Linked DNA regions of Homo sapiens: regions 2 and 3 are each linked to region 1. The links are contacts of gene promoters, found by promoter capture Hi-C in human tissues and cell types (Jung and others, 2019). All regions are on one chromosome and are shown on one strand. The core of a region is centred on a gene start or on the middle of the fragment in contact, and the rest is flanking DNA. Distances in the headings are between cores, read along the strand shown.

Region 1 (3,636 bases), core at 629-3,128:
GCTGGAGAATCGCTTGAACCCTGGAGGTGGAGGTTGCAGTGAGCTGAGATTACGTCATTGCACTCCAGCCTGGCTGACAAGCGCGAAACTCCGTCTCAAAACAAACAAACAAACAAACAACTTTCTCCATAACTTTTATGTATAAACACTGGCTGATGTACAGTCAGTCTTAACAGGACCCATTTCCCATCCTGGTTGTTTTGAGTGAGACAAGCTATGTTGTGGAGCAAGAGTGCCCTAATGTGATCAAAAAATGATAAAACGAAGGAAAGTTTGTCTCTCCCCAACCCCCTAGAGAAACCATTCACAAAGATCCTATTTTACCCTGCCCTAGAATTCAACAAAAACCCTTACCTTAAATTTGTAGCAGTAGCTCTTATTCTGAGAACATCACTGCACCTCCTAGCCAAGGGGGAAAGCAGCTTCAATAAGGCAGAACTTTGCCTAAAACAGGAAGTTCGTTGATTTCAGGAGAAACTTATCTGTTGCATCCAGCAGGGGCATCCCAGTTGGGGGAACACGATGGATTCCGTGCATGAAGGTTGAAACCTGCTCAGGAAGGTCCAGGGTGACCAGGGAGGCCACTCTGAAACACTGATGACTACATCATTTTGTGGAGTGAAATTAAAGCTGCCGAGGCAGAAATACTTTGATAAGGGTTTATTTGAAGCCAAAGGTGAGGATCAACCCAGAAAGATGCACCAACACATTTGGATGTGTGCCAGAATCTTTTACAATTTGGAATGTTTTTATAAGAAAGTTTAGGAGAAGAGAAGGGAACTTCTTATATCAGAATTGTCTGTTTTTATTGGAGGGTATAATACAGAGGTCATAATGATTAGATACAGGTTATAACATACAGGCTAAAACATTTTGTATGTAAAACCATCAGTGAAACTTTATAAGAGAGGGCACAGTGGCTTATGCCTGTAATCCCAGCACTTTGGGAGGTTGAGACGGGCAGATCCCTTGAGGAGAAGCTCATCGCTCCTGAGGCCAGTAGTTCGAGACCAGCCTAGCCAATATGGTGAAACTCTGCTCTACTAAAAATACAAAAATTAGCTGGGCATGGTGGCACATGCCTGCAATCCCAACAACTCGAGAGGCTGAGGCAGGAAGGTTGCTTGAACCTAGGAGATGGAGGTTGCAGTAAGATGAGACTGCGCCACTGCACTCCAGCCTGGGTGACAAAGACCCTGTCTCAAAAAAAAAAAGAAAAGAAAAGAAAAACTTTATGATTTATAAATATAAAGCAAAACTTCATGGTTTAGAAACAAAGGATTGTGCTTTTCCATATCAGTGGAAAATCAGAACATCAACAGTTGGAAGAACTCATAAGATCTGAGTAATTAAAGATAAGATTTGAGGAACTCACAAGATTCTTTACTCAGGAACAGGATGTAACCCATGCATCAAGAGATCTTTTCCGGGGGCTAATTGGGACTAATGTGACTGGTAGGTTATCAGCAGAGACCACGTCTGTCTTGTTCAACCTGTGTCCCAGGTCCTAGCACCATGCCTGCTACCATTTAAGTGTTCATGTGAAGTTTGTTGTTGAGAAACTAATTACCTAAAAGTTAGAACTTGACCTTTGCATTTTATCGAGGAGGCTATGAGACTCAGAGGGTTACACAGCTAGTGAGTGGCAGAGCCTGGACTTGAACTCAGTTGTGCTGAAGCCAGAATGTGTTCCTTCCTGAGCATTCAAGGACAGGGAAGGTGAAACTCCAGCTAGTGGGCAGCCCGTGTGCTTGTTCTAGGGAGACTGCAGGCCGATTCCTGGGAGCTGGGTCTTCATGGTGACACAGTAAGAACAACTCACCTATTGGCTGGGCGCAGTGGCTCACGCCTGTAATCCCAGCACTTTGGGAGGCCGAGGTGGTTGGATCACTTGAGGTCAGGAGTTGGAGACCAGCCTGGCCAATATGGTGAAACCCTGTCTCTACTAAAAATACAAAAATTAGCTGGGTGTGGTGGCTCATGCCTGTAATCTCAGCTGCTCGGGAGGCTGAGGTAGGATAATCGCTTGAACCTGGTGGGGCGGAGGTTTCAGTGAGCCGAGATTGGCACCATTGCCCTCCAGCCTGGGTGACAAAGTGAGACTCTGTCTCAAAAAACAAAGCAAAGCAAAACAAAACAAAACGAAACAGAACTACTCACCTATGTTGTGGATCAACTGTGTCCCCACTGTACCAAATCCTTATTTATTTAAAAAAATTTGTTTTGGACCCTTTTCACAAGATGGTGCCGAAAGTGAAGAAGGAAGCTCCTGCCCCTCCTAAAGCCGAAGCCAAAGCGAAGGCTTTAAAGGCCAAGAAGGCAGTGTTGAAAGGTGTCCACAGCCACAAAAAGAAGATCCACACGTCACCCACCTTCCGGCGGCCGAAGACACTGCGACTCCGGAGACAGCCCAAATATCCTCGGAAGAGCGCTCCCAGGAGAAACAAGCTTGACCACTATGCTATCATCAAGTTTCCGCTGACCACTGAGTCTGCCATGAAGAAGATAGAAGACAACAACACACTTGTGTTCATTGTGGATGTTAAAGCCAACAAGCACCAGATCAAACAGGCTGTGAAGAAGCTCTATGACATTGATGTGGCCAAGGTCAACACCCTGATTCGGCCTGATGGAGAGAAGAAGGTATATGTTCGACTGACTCCTGATTACGATGCTTTGGATGTTGCCAACAAAATTGGGATTATCTAAACTGAGTGCAGCTGCCTAATTCTGAATATATATATATATATCTTTTCACCATATACATGCCTCTCTGTCAATTTCTGGTTGGGCTGGGAGGCCACACACAGACACTGACATGACAGGGCTTGGGCAAGACTCCTGTTCTACTTATCCTTTTGAAATATTCACCCTGCCACTCCACCATGTGTGATCACTCCAGAGATCTTTGTGACTAGAGTTAGTGTCCTAGGAAAACCAGAACTCAGAACTTGCCTCCATGGTTGAGGGTAACAAGAAGCTGTACAAGAACCCCTTTTATCCCTGGAAGAGGCTGTGTATGAAACCAATGCCCAGGGTTTGAAGGGCGTTAGCATCCATTTCAGGGGAGTGTGGATTGGCTGGCTTTCTGGTAGCATTTTGTCCTCACACACCCATCTACTGTGTCCAACCGGTCTGTCTGCTTCCCTCACCCCTTGCCCAATAAAGGACAAGGACTTCAGAGGAAAAAAAAAATTGTTTTAATTATTACATTTATAGCATCCCAGCTTGAAAAACGAAGCAACAGAGACGTGTAGAAAGTTAAAAGGTTTCTACTCCAATTGTAATTTCTCCAATTCCATCGTGGTATGTGCATTCTTCTGGATTTTTTTCAGTGTGCATACACATGTGTACATACAGACACATACACATACACTCGTACGTTTTTTATATTGATGGGACCATTACTCACATCTTTAATTTGGAACTTATTCTCTGCTCTCTCTCCCTGTGTCTGATAGAATGCTGGCAATGCTTTGTGATGCTTTAGGAGACACATTTGTCAGATGTGAAGACTTAGGCTTAGGAATTGATGGGTGGTGACTGAGGCTGGTCACTCTGTGGTCTGGTGCACTTTCCCACTGCCCCACTCTGGGTAGGGGTGGAAGGGCCCCTGCAGAGAAGCACCAGCTTCTG
Region 2 (3,636 bases), core at 329-2,828, 560 kb before region 1:
TGGATTGCACACTTCAGGTGGGTGAATTGTATAATACGTAAATTATATCTCATTTAAGCTGTTGCTATCGAACCGAGTTTGTTCTTCCTCTGTGCAGCAAGCCAATCAATGTAATGACAGATTTTGCAGAAGAGGAAGAGTTCGTTCATGAGGCAATTAAGCGACGAGGTGGTAAAACAGGTCTCAAATTCTCCTCCCCAAAAATAGGGTTTGAGGGTGCTTATGGGATAGAAAACGGGGTGATCTAAAGTACGGAGAAAGGTGACTGGCAGGTAGGGAAGGTGAGGTAATCAGAATTTCTGAGCAAGCATGGTTGAGCTACATGGCTTTAGATAGGACATTTGTGCAAAAAATAGCATTTAGCATGATCTGAAGGTGGAGTTTACGGCCCTCTGATATCAGCTACCCACATAGGTGCAGTTGAAGGGTCAGTGATCTCCACTGGCTTAAACTAAACAAGAGCTGCCTCCTACCTAGTTCCTGAAAAACAACTTTAAGCACCCATTACTATAGTGTCCCACAGACAAAAATGTTATCTGTAAGGAAGCCAGTGGGAGTTTAGTTATGCATTATTTGGCTACGTGACTTGCTAGTGGCGCTTTTAAGATCAACTATAAGTAAGCAATTAAAAGTAAGTAAGCAATTAAACGCAAGGCAGATTAAGTCTGGAGGGCTTAATCAGGTTCGCCTTTGGTTTCACTATTAACATAAGAAATAAAATGAAACAAAATGGCTGAAAAATAATAAGAGGAGGAGGAAGAGAGGAATCATCATGATGCATCAGTTAAGGCAACTGGGCTGGAACATTTTAGGGGTTGTTTGTTTGTTTTTATATTTAAGACAGAGTCTTGCTCTGTCACCCAGGCTGGAGTGCAGAGGCACAATCTTAGCTCGCTGCAGCCTCAAACTCCTAGGCTCAAGCCAGCCTCCTACCTCAGCCTCCTGAGTAGCTAGGACTATAGGTATATGCCATCATTTTTATTATTATTATTATTTTAGTGACAGGGTCTCACTATGCCCCGGCTGGTCTCAAACTCCTCACCTCAAGCGATCCTCCTGCCTTGGCCTCCCAAAGCGCTGGGACTACAGACGTGACCCACCACACCTCACCCCTTATAGGGTTGAATGCCAACTGTGCCAATTGCTGACCTTGGGCAGTCATTTCACCTCTATGAGCCTCAGTTTCTCCATCTGCAAAATGGGAGCAAAAATACTGATCTGTCTAGACTCTTGAAGACTCGATGAGATAATAACTAAGTGAAGTCGGTGTTATCTACACAGTGGAAGGTGAGATGAATAAACTAGGCATAATGATGATGGTAATAACCAGATGGGCTGGCTATGGGATGGGGGTTGGGAGAGGTTGTGGCTGGGCTGGCACAGACATCTGACTCATTTAGACTCTCTGCCTAGGCCACCTTTGCCAGAGGGAGTCCCCTCAGCCTTGCGATCACTCATCCCATTGGCGTTGGCTCCATTTCCACACCACAGCTGTGTGCCAAGGGTGTGTCATGAGGTTTCTTGAGTGACAGAAAACTCACCGACAATAAAGGGCCAGGTGATTGTGCCACCCGATTCATAGACCAGGCTTCTCAGGAGAAACCCCGGGAGATTCCACACTGTCAGCCCCTTCTCCAAGATCAGTACGTGGGCCTGACTCCTCCTCGGTGCCCAGCTCAGTATTGGCAACTAGGAGAGTAGTGAGATTGAACTTGGCCTTGAGGAACAGCTGCCTCTAGAGTTGGTAAGTGATTTGGTGGATATTAGCCTCTCTCTCTCTCTCTCTCTCTCTCTCTCACACACACACACACACACACACACACACACACACGCACATACACACATACGCTCCCTCTCCCTTCATGAATTAATGCTCTGGCCAGTTTTGGCAGAATGGAAGAAATTTCCATCCATCCCCTCTTTCTTTTCATCTGTTCATTTTTTTCTTATTTGTTTACTCAGCAAATTCTCTCCAACACCACCTCTGTGCTCCCTGCCACACTGTTGGCCATGATGGAGACAGAGATAATGAAGTCAGGCTTTCAGTCCTGAAAACTGAGCTGCCAGTTCAGCCATGAGAGTAAGAATCAAAAACACTGCTGTAATTCAAGTAGGAGCAAGCAGAGCTGTGAGAGTCCAGAGAAGGAAGAGGAAAGTTCCAGGAGGTCAAGAGGGATCCTAAAACCTACCTGGGTCACCATTGCTGTTAAGCACCTAGAGCTCTCCCCAGGTCCTTTGCGGATGGGAAAATCGAGTCTCAGAGAGGAGAGTGAGATGCCGAAGGTCACACAGCTGGGAAGGGACTGAGGCAGGATTCGGTTCTGGCTCCAGGGCTATGCTCCTTCCACTTCCTCCCTCACAATCTTTGGCTCCTCTTTCGTCACAGCACTTGCTGTGTGTGTGTGTGAGTGTGTGTGTGTGAGAGAGAGAGAGAGAGAGAGAGATTTAATATTCATTTCTGTCACAGACTAGAGCTACAGAAGGACAGAAAGTCAGGGAGCATGTCTGTCTTACTTAATGGATTCTAAGTGCATAACACATAATAGATACCCAGAAAATATTTGCTGGGTAGGTGGGTGGGTGGGTGGATGGATTGATGGATGGATGGATGGATGGGTGGGTGGGTAGATGGATAAGTAAATAGGTGGATGGATAGATGGAAGATAGAGATGATGGATGAAGGAATGGATAGAAGGAGGGCTAGATGGAGGGATAGTTGGAAGATAGAATAGATGGAGGGATGGAAGACAGAGAGAGATAATGGATGAATGGATGGATGGATGGATGAATGAATGAGTGGTTGGATGAATAAGTGGATGGATAGATAGATGGATGGGTAGATAAATGGGTTGATGGAAGAATGAATGGGTATATGGGATGACTGATTAATAGATGGGTAGACAGACGGATGAATAGATGTGTGAGTGGGTGGATGGATGGATGGATGAGTGGATAGATAGGTAAGTGGAAAGATAAATTGGTGGATGGGTTGATGAATAAAAGGATGGATGTTAAATTGGATTGATGGATGACTAGATAGATGTGCGGGTGGAAGGATGGGTGGATGGGATGACTGATTAATAGATAAGTAGATGGACAGATGAATAGATGGAAGGGTGAGTGGGTGAATGGATGGATAGATGATGAATTAATGGATAGATGGTAGATGGATAGATGAATGAATTGATGGGTGACTGGATAGATAGATGGATAAAAACATAGATGAATGGATGGTTGATGGGGGAAGGCATAGCAGATATTATGCCACCAAAATTGTCAGAGAAGGATCTAGATAGAAAAAAAAAAAGCATTCCCGGTGGGGTGCAGTGGCTCACATCTATAATCCCAGCACTTTGGGAGGCTGAGGTGGGCAGATCATGAGGTCAGGAGATCAAGACCATCCTGGCTAACACAGTGAAATCCCGTCTCTACTAAAAATACAATAAAATTAGCCAGGCATGGTGGCGCATACCTGTAGTCCCAGCTACTCGGGAGGCTGAGGCAGGATCATCACTTGAACCCAGGAGGCAGAGGTTGCAGTGAGCCGAGATCATGCCACTGCACCCCAGACAGCCTGGGTGACAGAGTGAGATTCTGTCTCAAAAAAAAAAAAAAAAAAAGCAAAAAGCATTCCCT
Region 3 (3,636 bases), core at 347-2,846, 530 kb before region 1:
TGATTTTTTTTTTTTTTTTGAGACAAGGTCTCACTCTGTCACCCAGGCTGGAGTGCAGTGGCATGATCTCAACTTGCTGCAAACTTCACCTCCCGGGCTCAAGGGATCCTCCCACCTCAGCCTCCTGAGTAGTTGGGACTATAGGCACGTCCAGCTAATTTTGTATTTTTAGTAGAGACAGGGTTTCACCATGTTGGCCGGGCTGGTCTCAAACTCCTGAGCTAAATTGATCCACCTGCCTCGGCCTCCCAAAGTGCTAGGATTACAGGTGTGAACCACCATGCCCAGCCTCTGAAAATAATTTTAATTTTAAAAAAATAATGACAGTGGGATTGGCACCTACTCATATCCCCATATGTCCAACGCGAAGTTGGTCTACCTTGTTCTTGCTTTGAAGCTGACCTCCCCACAGAGTTACGATCCAAGAGCCAACAGTCCAACAGCCAATATTATTAGGGAAAGTAATTCTAATATTTACTAAAGCCCCTAGGAGAATTTCAACAAGTATCCTACACACGTTCTGTGTGGCTGATAGGAAGGATTTTTTTTTTAAGAGACAGGGTCTCACTCCGTTGTCCAGGTTGGAATGCAGTGGTGCGATCACAGCTCACTGCAGCCTCAACCTCCAGGGCTCAAGTGATCCTCCCACCTCAGCCTCCTGGGTAACTGAGACCACGGGCATGTGCCACCAATCCTGGCTAATTTTTTTAAATTTTTTGTAGATATAAGGTCTTGCTGTTTTGCCCAAGCTGGTCTCAAACTTCTAGGCTCAAGGGATTCTCCAACCTTGGCCTCCCAAGTAGCTAGGATTATAGGCATGAGCCACCGTGTCCAACTCCAGTGCCAAGCAGGTGATCAAGAAGTGTTTGATAGGCCGGGTACAGTGGCTCAGGCCTGTAATCCCAGCACTTTGGGAGACCGAGGAGAGCAGATCACTTGAGGTTTGAGATCAGTCTTTCCAACATGGTGAAACCCTGTCTCTACTAAAAATACAAAGACTAGCTGGGCATGGTGGTGGGCACCAGTAATTCCAGCTACTCAAGAGGCTGAGGAGGGAGAATTGCTAGAACCCAGGAGGTGGAGGTTGCAGTGAGCCGAGATTGCTCCACTGTGCTCCAGGCTGGGTGAAAGAGTGACACTCCATCTCAAAAAAAAGTGTTTGATAAATTTATTTATTTAATACCGATTTATTGATTGATTGATACTCTTCGGAGCTTTCCTTAATGAGCCAGTTTCTTCCATAATGCAATGAATGAAAGGACCTCTCAGATTCAGGCATCTGAGTGCCCGACTGGAGTCTGGGACCCCCCAGACCTCTCTGCCTGGGAGCTTCCATGAAGCTCAGCCTGAGCTGGAAGGAGACCGTAGGGAGATGTCCTAGTGAGAGTGAATCCCTAGTCACTGTTTCCTCTTCTTACCCACTCGATGATCCCAAAGCACACCCATCTCCAAAAGAACAGGTCACATGTGGCAGAGGAGAAACAAAATAATTAGCATCCGCTTCCTTAACAAGGAGCTATGGGGACGAAGTCTCCTAGAGTCCCCAGACTATAAATACCCTGATGTTCCCCTGGCTCCCCCACTCACCTGCAGAGTCTGGGGGCGGGGGGGTACACATATGAATCCTTCCCATAGACATCAGGCTAACCCCAGCGATCACAGGTGAGTAGCCCCCATGCCCTTCCTAGGGGTTTAGTGCTGACCTCGGGATCCTCTAGCAGTTGGTGGAGAAGGAGGCTTCCCGGGACCCTCCCCTTGGTGATGCCATCCTGGTGAGCAGGTGAGGGATGGGGAAAGGATTGAGCTGAGGGTGGGGGTGGAGGGTTGTGGGAGAGGAATCTGTCTCCTTCCTAGAGGCCGAGAGAGAGAGAAGAGACTGAGACCAAGTCTAGACTCTCTGAGTGGACAAAGCACGCAGACGGCAGACCCTCTGTGGCAGGATATGTGGAGGAAAAGCACTGAGGGTCTGCAGCTGCAGGACACCTGCACAGATAGGAGAGGTCTTGAGAAACAAGTTTCTCCAATGCAGCAGCTCCCCAAGTGTGGTCCCTGGGCTAGAAGCACCAGCATCCTCTGGAAACTATCTAGAAGTGCTGGTTCTTACACCAGACATTTCAGGGAAAGGGCTTAGCTTTTTGTGTATGATGAGTTTGGGAGCGGGGGGGAGGGGGCGGGGGGATTGTTTTGTTTGTTTGTTTGTTCTTTCTGTTTTTGAGACAGGGTCTCGCTCTGTTGCCCAGTCTGGAGTGCAGTGGCATTATCATAGCTCATCGCAGCCTCGACCTCCCAAGCTCAAGTGATCCTCCCTCCTCAGCCTCCCGGGTACCTGGGATAACAGACATATACCACCATGCCTGGCTAATTTTATTTTCGTAGAGGCAGGGATCTTCCTATGTTGCCCAGGATGGTCTCACACTCCCGGGCTCAAGAGATCCTCCTACCTTGGCCCCCCAAGCAGCTGGGACTAACAGGTGTGTGCCACCATGTCCAGCTAATTTTTTATTTTGTAGAGATGGGGGTCTCACTGTGTTGCCCAGGTTGGTCTCTAACTCCTGGACTCAAGGGATTCTCCCACCTCAGCCTTCTGAGTAGCTGGGACTATGGAAGCATGCCACCATGCCCAGCAGATTGTTTTATTTTTTGTAGATCCAGGGCGGGATTGGGGGTGGGGTGGCCTCACTTTGTCTGCCAGGCTGGTCTTGAACTCCTGGCCTCAAGCAATTCTCCCACTTCAGCCTCCCAAAGTGCTGGGATTACAGGTGTGAGCCACCATGCCTGGCCCGCTTTTTGTGTTTTAACAAGCCTTCCAGGTGACCCTGAAGCGTGCTCAAGGTTGAGAACCGCTGCTCTATGCAACCCAAGTCAACAACTGAGGACTGTTACAAATATGTTGCCAGGAAGGGAATCGCAGTATTCTATCCAGCCTAGAGAAAACCAAGCATTGCATTGCAAAAACCTCAAGTCCAACACTAAAAAGCCTCAAAAAGTTAACATAGGGCTTTGCTGAAGGCCTCTTGGGGTTACCAAGGAGATTATGCTGCTAACCTTCCTAAAAACCCCTTTCATCGGCTGGGCGCTGAAATGATGAGATTACTGGGCTCACGCCTGTAATCTCAGTACTTTGGGAGGCCAAGGTGGGCGGATCACCGGGTCAGGAGTTCAAGACCAGCCTGGCCAACAGGCTTAGTAGAGGCGAAACCCCGTCTCTACTAAAAATACAAAAATTAATCGGGCGTGGTGATGCACACCTGTAATCCCAGCTATTCGGGTGGCTGAGGCACAAGAATCACTTGAACCCAGGAGACGGATGTTGCAGTGAGCCGAGATCGTGCCACTGTACTCTAGCCTAGGTGACAGAGTGAGACTCTGTCTCGAAAAGAAACACGTGTAAATGCTTGTAATTGAATATTTTTCCCTTGCACGTGTTGACAGCACAGAATTTAGCTTCGAAATGCCTCATAAAGAGGTGAGAGTGGCCATTCTTAGGGAGGCAGTGGAGTATGAGAGTGAAAATAAGTCTAAATTCAAAGGCGAGATCAGGCACTTGCAAGCTGAGTGCCCCTGGCAGCTCGCTCAGCCCCAGTCTGCTCACTGTAAATTGTAGCTAACACAATCTCCCTGTGGGAGTTATTGTAA

Evidence for each region. Contacts are between HindIII fragments. The study calls those that stand out against the background at their distance.
Region 2: a contact is called between the fragment with the promoter of CASP14 here and a fragment that was not itself captured in region 1, in 4 of the 25 tissues and cell types used here (bladder, dorsolateral prefrontal cortex, lymphoblastoid cells and 1 more).
Region 3: a contact is called between the fragment with the promoter of OR1I1 here and a fragment that was not itself captured in region 1, in 7 of the 25 tissues and cell types used here (aorta, dorsolateral prefrontal cortex, heart left ventricle and 4 more).

What each region holds. Positions count from the first base shown.
Region 1 is chr19:15,609,415-15,613,050 of GRCh38, forward strand. It overlaps the pseudogene RPL23AP2. Among named protein-coding and RNA genes, the nearest start is that of CYP4F8, 4.0 kb to the right of the region's middle. The HindIII fragment of the contact is 7,491 bases long and covers 1-3,636 here.
Region 2 is chr19:15,047,902-15,051,537 of GRCh38, forward strand. CASP14 (caspase 14) reads left to right here and starts at 1,579. Exons shown (of 7, transcript NM_012114.3): 1 at 1,579-1,744. The HindIII fragment of the contact is 29,360 bases long and covers 1-3,636 here.
Region 3 is chr19:15,080,615-15,084,250 of GRCh38, forward strand. It overlaps OR1I1 (olfactory receptor family 1 subfamily I member 1), which reads left to right and starts at 1,597. Exons shown (of 2, transcript NM_001004713.2): 1 at 1,597-1,662. The HindIII fragment of the contact is 16,029 bases long and covers 1-3,636 here.